Linked DNA regions of Homo sapiens: region 2 is linked to region 1. Evidence: promoter capture Hi-C in human tissues and cell types (Jung and others, 2019). All regions are on one chromosome and are shown on one strand. Each heading gives the region's core, a stretch centred on a gene start or on the middle of the fragment in contact. The rest is flanking DNA. Distances are from core to core; before and after follow the strand shown.

What was found. The method cuts DNA at HindIII sites, captures the fragments that hold promoters and counts their contacts. A contact is called where the count stands out against the background at its distance.
Region 2: a fragment that was not itself captured here is called in contact with the fragment with the promoter of NUTM2G in region 1 in 3 of the 25 tissues and cell types used here (dorsolateral prefrontal cortex, lymphoblastoid cells and thymus).

The regions. Positions count from the first base shown.
Region 1 is chr9:96,926,119-96,932,962 of GRCh38, forward strand. NUTM2G (NUT family member 2G) reads left to right here and starts at 2,725. Exons shown (of 7, transcript NM_001170741.3): 1 at 2,725-2,922; 2 at 5,604-6,300. The coding sequence starts at 2,907. It also overlaps a transcript of ZNF782 not described here. RefSeq lists enhancers at 4,819-5,704, 5,705-6,590. The HindIII fragment of the contact is 14,444 bases long and covers 1-6,844 here.
Region 2 is chr9:96,877,168-96,884,112 of GRCh38, forward strand. It overlaps a transcript of ZNF782 not described here. Among named protein-coding and RNA genes, the nearest start is that of ZNF782, 26 kb to the left of the region's middle. RefSeq lists an enhancer at 6,803-6,945. The HindIII fragment of the contact is 3,838 bases long and covers 1-3,251 here.

The DNA.
Region 1 (6,844 bases), core at 1,475-3,974:
ATATACTTTTTGTATCAGTGGCTCAGAAAAAGACTCATTCAAATCCTGTATCAAAGCCATGTGTGAGCATCTTGAGAAAGCATTGACTGACTAACTTGACAAGGGAGGAAGCAAACAAGAATTCTGCCCTTCTTCAGTGCCTGAGTGTGATATTTTGCCTCAACATCCCTCTTAGATGAAGTTACTGATTGAAAATCATTTAAGTTTTTGCCCCGTGATAAAAGATCGCGTCCTCAGAAAGATCTCCAAAGCATTTACTGTTTGTTTGGTTTGGTTTTGGTAAGTTTACCATGATTTTGCTTGAATTGCTCTCCGTTGATCTTCTCAGCTAAGATCGAGGTAGAGTTGCACAGCAGAAGAGGGCTGCATGTAAGGAGGCAGCTCTGTCTCGGAGGACAAAAGGCCTGGGAGCATCCAGACAGGCAGTCACTGTGTGGAGGACACTCCCCTCCCAGTGGCCACTGTGGAGGCATTTCATAGAAATGCTCGCTGGACCATTCAGTTTTAGAGTTGGGACAAAACCGAGAACTCATGAGGATATTGGATAGGAGTTAGGAAATGACTTTTTCCCACAACCCAGGCAAGGAGGGGAGAACCCTGGGCTTGAGACTTGCAATCCACTGCCTGCCCCTGCAGTGTGGCCTGTTACGTTTTCTGCAACTCTGCCTTCTTGAGTCCAAATGTCTTCGAAAGGGGCAAATGCTTCTTAAGTGCCAACAGGGTGTGTTTCAGTGAATGTTCACAGTGTGCACTGGTCCGGCTGAAGGCCTCTTCCCTTCCCCAACACCCACCCATCAGTGCAAAAGACTGCTGCCCAGCAGGGAGTGACATCTGTGTCTCAGATTTTCTTGCTGTGCTCTGAGTACTCACTCCTCATCTCCTTTGGCCAGTTTCCTAACACTCCCCTTGTTCACAACACAGAACATGAGTGCTCTTTCCTGTCATTCTGACGCTGATAAACAGCAATTCTGTGTGAAAATGAGAATGAAGATTTTTTTAAAGACAGGCTACAATAATTCCCATGCTGAGAACCACATGTGATGACACTTGTGATGAAGATGAGGACAGCAATGAGCTGAGAGACTCCAGCCAGGATTCACACATGCGAGGGGATGCATGAGAATGGGGATGGGACATTGGTGGTTAGCATCCTTGCTTGTCTCAGAATGGACGTGGGTTGTGGATTTCTAACTCCTGGAGAAACCAGAGTTCTAGGAATTGTAAGCCACTTTATGTTAGGAAAGAAAAAGACGGTGTTCTGCTCTCCTGTCCCTTAAAACTGTGCGTACTGCCACTAAACCTGGAAGCTGAGAACAGTATAATGGCTACTCCTGACTTCCTTTCATCAAATCAGCCTGCTATTGTTTTCTGCAATGGTTGTGGTGCAGAATCTTTTTGTGGTGCAGCCAAGATTCACACTTGAGTCTCCTTACTGCAAGTTTGCACTCTCACAGTGGAGAGTTAACAATAATTGCCTAATATGTTACACTTTTTTGGGAAGAGTTACCAGATAAAGTGCAAGATCCCAGTGAAATGTGAATAGCACAGATAAAGGACAGATTTTTTTTGTAAAAGTGTACTGTAAATGTCATATGGATCATAATTATAGTAAAAACTAATTCACTGTTTATCTTCAATTCAAATTCCACTTGGTATTCTTTATTCATACTTGCTAAATCTGGCCACTATGTTCTTTCATGTATTTTTAATTTTAAAAAACAGTCCAACATCTCATTCTAGCAATTTACCTACAGAAATAAAGAGAGGAACCACATTACTGGGACAAATACAGTCACTGCAAATATCAGAAGAATACTAGAACATATTAATATATTAATTTTTACCCCCAAAAAACTGAAAATATTTTTAGACAGCAAAAATAGCTTCATTATGCTTTTGATTGCATAATATATCTCTGGAAAGATGAAAAAGAATCAGGTAACACCTATTTCCTCCAGGAAAGAAAATGTGGTGGCCAGAGAAAAGAGGTGGGAGGAAGGCTGGTCATTGCCTATTCCACTGTGCACAATTTGAATTTGGAACCATGCAAAAGTATTGCTTAGTTAAGTTAAAATCATGTAAAAGATACAAAATAAACATTTAACACCAGCACAATATGCTGGGAAACAAAATGAAAGGATTTCTGGTCTCGGTGCTGTAGGTCACATAGCCACTCTTTCCTGGACTGAGTCTTCCTAAGAAAGGGGACGGGAAGTAAGGCTGGCCTACTGGTGTGGACAGATTCCAGCAACATACATGACCTGGGGGCACAAGGACTGCTTCCTAAACAATGATGAGCACACAGCCACCTAATAGCCTGGATCAGCTGAGGCCATTCTGATTTCAAACACTCAGTCCCCTTGCCTTCCTAAGAACCCCTGTGTTTCTCAGACTGAAAACGTGTTCTGAATTTTGTTAAGTAAGTGTGGCCCCTGTTGAAATTCATCAAGAGTGGGAAAGAGCCAAAGTGGGAAGGAGCATGGGTTGATTGGCACAAAAGTAGGTCTGTTGATAAAGAATGGAAGTAAAGGGGACATCAGGTAGAAGCTTTTGCTGTGAGTCAGAAGGACAATTTAAAAGTTGCCTAAAGAGGCGCACACTGTCTGTGTTGCTGCCATCCAGTTGGATGGCAACCAACTGAACCAAGGGAACCTCAGGTTCTTGCCTACTGGCCAGAGCCCTTCACAGAATGTCCCCCACCCCCGCCAAGCCCGGCTGCCCACTGCCCCTCCCCCTCTGCAGAATGTCTGGGGTCCTGTGTTCCAAACCTGTTTATATGCAAATTATCCCTGCTCCACTTGGACTCAGGAGGATCTGCTGAGTCAGGTCACTCTCTGGGTCCTGCCCTTGACTTTTTTCATTGCGGAAGCTGCCAGACAGTGGTGGTCAGTGCCCAGCCTGAGGGGATGGCTTCAAATGGAGGTGAGCCTGTAGGGATGGGGCATTATCCTAGTCTGCCTTGCCTCAACTCCTTGGGAATTCAAATTTGAACTGTCCCTGGGGACAGCTTATAGGGCTGATGTTGAGGGAGCACTGGATGTCCCCAAGGACATCACACCTGGGGATGGCCATGGCACCCTGAGTCTGTGGTTAGGGAGGAGGGCTCCTTAGAGGCGGACCAAGATGCCTGGGGGAATACACCGTGTAGTGGAAAGGATGGAGAGGATGGCTTGATCCTTTCTAGAGGGGGACAGGTCACGTCATTGTGTTTGTAGGGAGTGGTGGGATCGTGTTGTGCTGGTGGCCCAGGGAGAATGACGGGCAAGCCTGAGCCCTGTGCCGTGTCTTCAGGCACCTGGAAGGTGCCCTTCCATAGTGTTTAGAGGGATTTGGACTGGAGTTTTCTAGTTCTTAGAGAGGAGTGGGGAGAAGTGGTCTCAGCCAGAAAACTGTTGGGTGGGTTGGCTGTGACAGAGCATGTAGTGACAGCCTCTGGGTGGGCAAGGCTGGGGGCCACTGTAACTGCCACAGCCCAGAGCCTCTCAGCTTCCTCCCCAGAGATGGCTTCTCCGTCAGTTCAGGTAGCTGTTGGCTTTGATTTAACAGGGGTGGGGGCAGAATGGGGAAGTTCAGGCAACACAGGGCCTGGGTTTCCTGAGTTGTTCTGAATTGTTTGCCCTTTGGTGGAAGCTCAGGTCTTCAGACCCACTTCCTCTCGTCAGCTAGCTCGTGGCCCGTCCTCTGTACTTTGTGTTACTGTGGAGGTGAAGAATTTGCTCCTGTTCCATTTATACTACCTCATGAACGGGCGACAGGTGTGGATTCTTGCTGGTTCTCAGTGGAAGGCTCTGAAAAGGCTGGTTTCCTTTTCAGTAGAGGAAGGAGAGTAGCGCACAAATAGGAAGACAGTCCTATTATTATTATTATTCAAACTAGGATGTGTGTCCTGACTGATGAGGTGCATGCGCTGTATCCCTTATTCCCCTTGGCTAGAGACTGCATGAGGTCCTAGTGAACAGGGATGAGTTCCAGACAACTCTGCCTCACCTGGCCTGTGGCCCAAGAACCCCTGGTTCTTCGTTGGTCCCTATGTTCAGTTACTGGGAGCTCAAAGGAGAAGGACCAGAGATGGGCTCCCTGTCCCACTATTTAGTGTAACATGACTAGCAGCTGTGAAAATCCCTGGCCGGGCGCGGTGGCTCACGCCTGTAATCCCAGCACTTTGGGAGACCAAGGCATGTGGATCACGAGGTCAAGGAGTTCAAGACCAGCCTGACCAATATGGTGAAACCCCGTCTCTACTAAAAATACAAAAATTGGCTGGGCATGGTGGCGGGAGCCTGTAATCCCAGCTACTCAGGAGGCTGAGGCAGGAGAAGTGCTTGAACCTGGGAGGCAGAGGTTGCAGTGAGCTGAGATCGCACCACTGCACTCCAGCCTGGGTGACAGAGCGAGACTCCGTCTCAAAAAAAAAAAAAAAGAAAAAAAAGAAAATCCCTAGACACCTCCCCTGATAGCCCTGCTGCTCACCATTTGCTGGCTGTGTTCTAGTCATGTGCAGCTGTTGCTGGCTACACAATGACAATATCTCAGGGGACTCCACCACTGCTTCTCAGATCTGCTCCCTGGGAACTGAGCTTCCTGAGTGGCAGCTGGGACCACTGAGCACTGAGGAATGGGTGGCCTGAATCTGACCCCTATTTAACACTTGTGTGGGTGGTGCCAGGACAATCACTTGCATGCTGGGCGTTATGTGTTATGGGTTATCTTCAGGGTTCCTAGGGCGCTGGCTTGGGCGAGTTTCCATCCAGTGGTTTTTTTTTTTTTTTTTTTTTTTTTTTTTTTTTTTTTTTTGAGACGGAGTCTCGCTCTGTCACCCGGGCTGGAATGAAGTGGCACGATCTCGGCTCACTGCAGCCTCTGCCTCCTCGGTTCAAGCAATTCTCCTGTCTCAGCCTCCTGAGTAGCTGCGATTACAGGCACGCATCATCAGCTAATTTTTGTATTTTAGTAGAGATGGGGTTTCACCACGTTGGCCAGACTGGTCTTCAACTCCTGACCTCAGGTGATCCACCCGCCTGGGCCTCCCAAAGTGCTGGGATGACAGGCATGAACCAGCATGCCCGGCCTATCCAGTGGTTTTCTTTTGTTGTGTTGAGCTAGGAAAGAAAGGGGTTTACAAGAGCTTCAGGGAAAGGAAGACTGAAGAGGAGATGGGGCCATAATATTCGGAAACTTCTGGTTTCCTGTCGGCCTTCTGAATGCCGAGCACTGCCCTGGGGTAGGCCCCTCACCTGCTGCTGAGCACACTGAGAGCCACCAAGCCACCGAGAGACTCATCCCTGACCCACGGCTTGGGAGATGCCTGTGAGGCTGGTGCAGTCTGCCAGGGACACCCGAGGGAGACCCTCAGAGACAGCAAAGGCTTGGCTGTTTCTTCTTGGCAGACAAGGGTCAGGGAGTCTTGGTGACTGGCGCCAGGCTCTCTAGTGGAGCGACTCTGCCGTGGAGGAACAGAGCATCTGATGCACACTCAGGGACACTTGCAAGCTGCAGAGTTTCCCTGTCACATGCCCTCAGCTGTTGGGACTCCCCTGATTCCCCAGTGACTAGAGTGGACCTGGAGACGCCAGCTCATTCACCTCTTTCCTTTGTCTCCACAGCATACCCAGTGCTGGGACCCGGCGTGACCGTGAACCCTGGCACCTCCCTGTCTGTGTTCACGGCTCTGCCCTTTGCCACACCCTCTCCCGGCCCAACACACAGGCCGCCCCTCGTGACTGCAGTGGTTCCTCCAGCCGGCCCTCTGGTGCTCTCTGCCTTCCCCAGCACCCCTCTAGTGGCAGGACAGGATGGCCGCGGCCCAAGTGGGGCTGGGGCTTCCAACGTCTTTGTCCAGATGAGGACAGAAGTGGGGCCTGTGAAGCCCCCTCAGGCACAGACCTTGATCCTAACTCAGGCCCCCCTCGTCTGGCAGGCTCCAGGCACCCTCTGTGGAGGTGTCATGTGTCCACCTCCCCTACTCCTGGCAGCTGCTCCTGGGGTGCCCGTTACCTCTGCCCAGGTGGTTGGGGGCACCCAGGCCTGTGAGGGAGGCTGGTCCCATGGCCTTCCTCTTCCACCACCACCACCGGCTGCCCAGGTGGCCCCCATCGTGTCCCCAGGGAACGCTGGGCCATGGCCACAAGGGGCTCATGGAGAGGGCAGCCTGGCTCCCTCCCAGGCCAAGGCCCGGCCGGACGACTCCTGTAAACCCAAGAGTGTCTATGAGAACTTCCGACTCTGGCAGCACTACAAGCCCCTGGCCCGGAGGCACCTTCCCCAGAGTCCTGACACTGAAGCGCTTTCCTGCTTCCTCATGTGAGTGTCCTCGGGGCGCCGGAGCTTGTCCTGCAGCTCACTCATAAAGAGGCTGCTGGATGGACAGGAGGTCACACTGTTCAGGGGAGCTTGCAGGGCGGTTGTGAGGGTGATGGGTTGTGCTATGGGAAGGTACATTTTCAGCAACATTAATCTGGCTGTGGCTCAGGACAGACTGTCAGGGGCCTCATGTCAACTGCCTGTCACTGTCCCGTGAGTCCAGCCAATCCTTAATTTTTTTTTTTTTTTTTGAGATGGACTTTCACTCTTGTTGCCCAGGCTGGAGTGCAATGGCGCGATCTCAGCTCATCACAACCTCCGCCTCCTGGGTTCAAGTGATTCTGCTGCCTCAGCTTCCTGAGTAGTTGGGATTACAGGCATGTGCCACCATGCCTGGCTAATTTTGTATTCGTAGAGATGGGGTTTCTCCATGTTGGTCAGGCTGGTCTTGAACTCCCGACCTCAGTTGATCTGCCCGCCTCAGCCTCTCAAAGTGCTGAGATTACAGGCATGAGCCATCATGCCCCGCCCCAATACTTACTTT
Region 2 (6,945 bases), core at 83-2,582, 50 kb before region 1:
TCCGTAACATCAATAATTTCTTCCGTGAGATGATAAATTTAAATAGTGGCACCTATTCACCCAAGGGTTGGTCACAAAGTCAGTGCGATCCCCGTGAACACACCCGTGAAGCTTTGCTTCCCAGCAACTTTCCTGGGGGCCGCGGGCGAAGGAACACCCCCAGATGCCGCTGCGCAGGGACAGGGGACGCGCCCAGACGTAGAGGCCCTGACCTCTGAATCTTGGCGGGGCACCCAGGAGCCCGGCTTCGGGGTGCTTAGCGGGGCGAAGCCGCCCCCGGACCCGCGTGGCTCCAGCCTCCTGGGGGTACCTGGCAGAGGGGGCTGCAGCGAGCGCCCTGCCGCGCCGCTTCCTCCGCGCGTCTCCCGCCTGGCTCCGCCAAGACTGGGGGCTTCCCCATAGGCCCGCGTCCGAGCGCGTCCTCAGGCTTCGCTCCGCGAGATCTGGGGGCCCCGTGGGCTGGGGTTCGGGCGGGGTCCGTTCCTTGCGGTCCGCGGTCTTGAAGCAATTTCCCGGCAAAGTCCCGGGACAGCGGGAAAGAAACTGGTCTCCCTGCCTGGGGTCGTTCCCGGTGGATGTGCCTCTTCATCAGACGGAATTTTCCGTCTGTGCAAAAATGAAGCTTACTCGGTATCATGTGTGCTTTTTGGGGGGAAGGACAAAAAAATATATTTTCTATAAACAACTTAATTGGCTTATTAATACTCAAATACCCTGCTTCTGTTTTATTAAATACAGTCTTCCATATAAAAATCCTTGAACTCGTAAAGACTAAAGGTAACAGTATAATAAACAGTCAACCCAACCATATTTGTTCGCTTTGTAGTAAGCTTGGCAACTTGGCAACTTGTTAACTTGTTATTTTATTCTCCTTAAGTTCTGTACTGAAAAAGGCTGTTAAGCCTAGTTTCGCTCTTGTTGCCCAAGCTGGAGTGCAATGCTGCGATCTCAGCTCACTGCAACCTCTGCTTCCCGGGTTCAAGAGATTCTCCTGCCTTAGCCTCCCCAGTGGCTAGGATTACAGGCGCGCGCCACCACGCCCGGCTAATTGTTTGTATTTTTAGTAGAGACAGGGTTTCACCATGTTGGCCAGTCTGGTCTCCAACTCCTGACCTCAGGTGATCCGCCTGTCTTGGCCTCCCAAAGTGCTGGGATTACAGGCGTGAGCCACCGCGTCCGGACTCCCTTGCTTATTATTTAAAGTAAATACATTTAAACGTTTCTTTAAAAAATTTAGACACTGCAAATTTGATTATAGCAGTGCATAAAGCTATAATGTAGCTCCCCCTCCTAATATCCAGCCCACCTCCCAAGTACGACCAATTGTCCACTGATGCCTAACTCTGCACTTTAGGCTACAGCAAACAATGCATTTTTAAAAACATGGTTACAACTTCTTTACAATTTTCTTTTAACATGTAAAATTGTCTCCTAATCGAGTTATCTGATCAGGCTATAGAGAAGGAAATCTTTCTGTTCCTTAACTACATTGTAGGGAATATCATGTTTATTTAATCAATTCTTTGTGATGGATGTTTGTTTCCAGTTTTCACTATTATAAATAATATGTGGCAAATAGCATTGTTCATGCATCTTTTGATATTTGTGAGATTATTTCTTTGCACAAGAGCCAAAATGATAGAATTGTGCAGTTAAAATGTGTACAAATGAACATGTAACAGATGCTAACAGGGAGTCCTCAAAGAGGCTTGTATCAGTTTATGCTGTTTCCTCACATCCACTCCAACACCAGATAGCAAGCATTTTTGGTAACCGATTTATAGAAATGCTTAAGGTTAAACATCAAATGGTGCACCATAAATTTCTTTTAAAAAAAGAAAAACACAATGCTTAAAGAATTACTATTCATGTTTTAATGGAAAGAAAGTGGTCCAAACATATATTCATTCAACAGACACTTATTGAAAACCTGCTGTGTGACAGGCATCATTGTAGATGCTGGCATAATAACAAGGAATAAAAGAGATAAAAATCCTCACTTTGGCATAGTCAATTGTTAAGAAACAATGGGATACTTAGGCCGGGCGCAGTGGCTCACGCCTATAATCCCAGCACTTTGGGAGGCTTAGGCGGGCAGATCACGAGGTCAAGAGATCGAGACCATCCTGGCTAACACGGTGAAACCCTGTCTCCACTAAAAAAACAAAAACAACAACAACAAAAAATTAGCCGTGCCTGGTGGCGGGCGCCTGTAGTCCCAGCTACTCGGGAGGCTGAGGCAGGAGAATGGCGTGAACCCAGAAGGCAGAGCTTGCGGTGAGCCCAGATCGCGCCACTGCACTCCAGCCTGGGCGACAGAGCAAGACTCCGTCTCAAAAACAAACAAAAAAAGAAACAATGGGACACTTAAAGGCATCTAATAAAAGGGACTTTTACAAAGCCTGGGCAGAGTTGGTGAGACGCCCTGTGACTAGTGACAGTGAAGTCATTATCACCGCCAGGGTTGATGTGAGGGGAAGGAAATGTTACCAGAGCCTGGCAAAAAAGACCATCCCAACAAGAGCTATGGCCTTAAAAAGAGGAACATTGTTAGATTTGTTTCGCTCTTTTGGAGCAATTGTAATAAGCTTATGTTTAATTTCAGTTTCCAACTGTTTTTAGCTAATATGTAGTATGGTTGATATTTATGTGTTGACTTTGCATTCTGTGATCTTGCTTAACTCACTTATTCGTTTTAGGATTTTTTTTTGTTTTTTGTAGATTCCTTGGGATTTTCTGTGTAGACAAACATGCAATCTGTAAATAAGGATAGACTTATTTTTTCCTTTCCAATTTGTATGCCTTTTCTTTTCTTACATTACTGTAATGGCCAGGATTCCCAGTACTATGTTGAATAGTAGTGGGGAGCTTTTTTGGAGCAACTGTAAATAACATTATGTTTTTTATTTCAGTTTCCAATTGTTTTTGGCTAATACGTAATATGGTTGATATTTATGTGTTGGCTTTGCATTTTGTGATCCTGCTAAACCCACTTATTAGTTTTAAGATTTTTTTTTTTTAGATTCCTTGGGATTTTCTATCTAGACAACCATGCAATCTGCAAATAAGGATAGATTTATTTTTTCTTTCCAATTTGTATAGCTTTTCTTTTCTTACATTATTGTAATGGCCAGGATTCCCAGTACTATGTTGAATAGCAGTGGGGAGATCAGACACACTTGCCTTGGTCCTGATTTTAGGGGAAAAGCATTGAGACTTTAGCCATCAAGTGTGATGCTAGCTTTAGTTAATTTGTGGTTCCTCGTTTTTTAGGTTGAGAAAGTTTTCTTCTAGCTCTAGTTTTCTGAGAGTTATTATTATAAATGGATGTTTGATCTGGTCAAATGCTTTTGCCGCATCAACTGATATGATCCTGTGGTGTTTTATTTTTTCTTTAGTCTGTCAAAATTGCAGATAACATTGGTTGATTTTCAAATATTGAACCAGCCTTGCATTTGCTGAATAAACCACACCTAGTTGTAGTGTATCTTTCTTTTTATGTATTAATAGCTATGATTTACTGATATTTGTTGTAAACTTTGTGTCCATGTTCAGAAGAAGAATTGGTCTATAGTTTTCCTTCTTTGTACTGTCTTTGGCTTTGATATCAGCATAATGTTGGCTTTGTAAAATAAGCTGGGAAGTGTTCTCTCCACTTTTGTTTTCTGGAATAATTTATGTAAAACTGATGTCATTTCATCTTTAAAAGTTTGGTATAATTACCCAAGGAAGACATCTATGCCTGGAGATTTCCTTTTCAGCATGTTTTAAACTATGAATTCCATTTCTTTAATATAAAACTACTTAAATTATCTATTTTATAGTTGGTGAGTCTTCTTCGTGTTTTTCAAGCAATTAGAACATTTAAGTTATTGAATTTTGGATAGACTTGTTCATATTATTCACTTATTAAGCTTTTAATGTCTGTAGGTTCTATAGTTAGAACCCCTGTTTTCTGCCTAACGTTGGTAATTTACATCTTCTCTTCATCTTTGTCAATCTTGCTAGATGTTTATCAATTTTATTTATCTCTTCCAAAACCCCCCACAACTTTTGGGTTGATTTCCTCTTTTGTTTTTATGTTTTCAATTTTCTTGATTCCTCTTATCTTTATCATTTCCTTTCTTCTTCTAGCTTTTAGTTTATTTTGCTTCCCTTTTTCTGTCTTGTGGTAGAAACTTACATTGTTAATTTGAGACTTTTCCTTTTCTAATATAAACATTTAATGTTCTAAATTTCTTATAAGCACAGCTTTAGGTGCATCCAATAGATATTATGTTGTAAATGATACAAATTGTGAATGGATGAGTGATCAACCAATAGCTCTGCTGGTAATTGATTTACTTTTCTTCAATAAAGTTGCATAAACCAATGGAAAAAAATTAAAGACTATAATCCATTTTGTGTTAATTTTTGTGTATGATATGGAACATGTAGTAAGGCTTGAACTTTTTTTCCTCTACAAATATCTAATTGTTCCATCATTATTTATGGAAAAGACTATCCTTCCCTTGCTGAGGTATCTTGGCACCTCTGTAGAAAATCAGTTGTTCAGACCATAAATGTTCATTTTCTGTTTCTGGACTTCATATTCTCCTCCATTTATTTATATGTCCATTCTTATGCCAATATCACACTATCGTAAATACTGTAGTTTTATATTAATTATTTAAATAAAATGTAAATCCTCTAGCTTTGTTTTATTTCATAAAGTTGTTTTGGTTATTTACGTCTTCTGCATTTCCACATAAATGTTAAGCCTTCCTTGTTAATTTACACAAGAGCTTGGATTGTATAAAATGAACTATTTTGGAAGTATGAGTGTGTGTGTGTGTGTGTGTGTGTGTGTGTATACTCATTGTAATAACATATAATCAGAAATCTAAAAAATAATATTAGGAAATAATATTTTTAATACAAGTGTTCAGGCTTTCAATAGTTAACTATTTAATATTTATATAGATTGAGGTGACTAAAGAATGTGTTCACCAAAAAAGGCCTAAATTCATTAAGACAGTCTCTGTGAAAAAGGGATGTTAAAGGTTATGAGAAAAGTTACTAGATCTGCATTTTTAAAATAAAAATGACTTTCTGAGATATTGGACAGAAGCAGCTTTAGTTATTTGGAGGTCGAGCATACATGTCTACTATGATTCACCATAAAGCCATATTAGCAGCCATTGGCCAGTACATTTCGCATTATTTCCTTTTGCATATTTCATATGATAAATTCCTTTTAAGTTTGAGCACCAATAAAAAATTAGGCATTTCTTTTTTAAAATAGTAGGCTTCCTTTAATCAGGTATTTTGAATTATCTTTTGATTCTCTTTTCCATTGTAAATTAGCAAATTACAGAGATTATATTAATTTATTATAAATGTACTCCCATTTTATTTAAAAAGGTGATAGTATTATACATTTTAATCTCTAATCACTGTAAACTATGGAAATATCAAGCCTCTAATTGAAAATATTCCTGAAAGCATCAGTAGGAAAGAATCAATCTCTTGGTCTCAGTCATGTAGCAAGAGCATTCCATGATTGTTTTAACTGCATGCTTACATATTTTAGTTACGTCTTATTGTAAAATGTCAATGCCATTATAGAAATTTCAAATTTAAAAAGTACATCTTGTCCTTGGACACTGTGGCCTCAAAAGACTAGCTGAAGTTTTTCTTCACCTTAATTATCATTGCTGAACTTGTAGGAGGGGTGGTTTAAATGTGTCAGTGACTTAAAACGAGAATTCTCTCTTTGATTTGGATAATCCATGAAAACTAGTGATGTTACCTTGTTCATGAAGGAACAATGCAGAGAAGACACCACACTGGCTGTCATGAGAAGAATGGACAATAGGAGATGAAGAATGAAAAGACAGAATTCTGCAAGACAACAGTTGCAGTAAAGTTGTTTAGTTTCTTTGCATTGCCACATTAAAAAAAGGAAAGACAAAGCAGCTAGACATCGAAACAAAACTAAACACGAAACACCAAGGACAATATATTTTTTAAAAACATGGTGACAGGATGTTTTCATGAATCCCAAAATATGGGGTGTGGAGACAAGCCACCTGACTACAAGTGACATCTTGTGTAGGAGGAAGCAAGGAAAGCATTGGTGGGATGATTCCAGAACAGCAGCTCTAAAAGGAGGGGTTTGTTTTCTCCAATACCAGTAGGGCTCAAGGGGCTTGTGTAAGATAAGCTGAAGGGGATGGAGCAGTGTAGCTCCTCTGAAATCACCTGCCAGGGATCCCTTTTAGGGCAGGGACCTACACTGAAGAGAGACTGCTTCTAGTGGAATGAAAATCAAGCAGGATAGGGACAACAAAGGTGACAGAGAGAGAAGGTTTAGACTAAAGGGACGGAGGAGAATAAAGGCAGAACATCTCAGAAAGCCAAGTTGACATATTTTTGAGCCCTAGACACAACCAATAGAAGGGAGCTCTGTGAAGTTTGAAAGGCTTTTCACACCTCTTTCAGAAAATTCAGAAACCTTCACATCTCTTTCTGAAAGTTCAGAAAAACTAACGACATAAAAAATAAAAGTCCTTCCTACTACACATAGAAATCTTTGGAAACAAAACAATAAACAAGCATAGCAAAACTCTGAAAAGATACATGGAAGAAGATGGGCTGTCCAGAGACATCAAGAGTTGATGAACTGCAGGGTGATGAGTTCTCTGTTTCCTTCTGCTTCTCATATGCCATGGACAGGGCACTACAGAAACCTCCAACCCAGAACTACCAATAGGCACAGACAATGAAACAAAAGCCTTAAGAAAAGTGTGTTCTCTTTAGCCAAAGGTCTTGGAATGGATGGGCTATGAATAGAAAAGCTTTTAGCAATATCAGCCCTACACCAGCCAAACACCAACAGAAAAGCTGTACTACCCTCTACCCTGTGGAAGCAAGCAAGGGAACTCTGATTTCCCAATCTGGTGG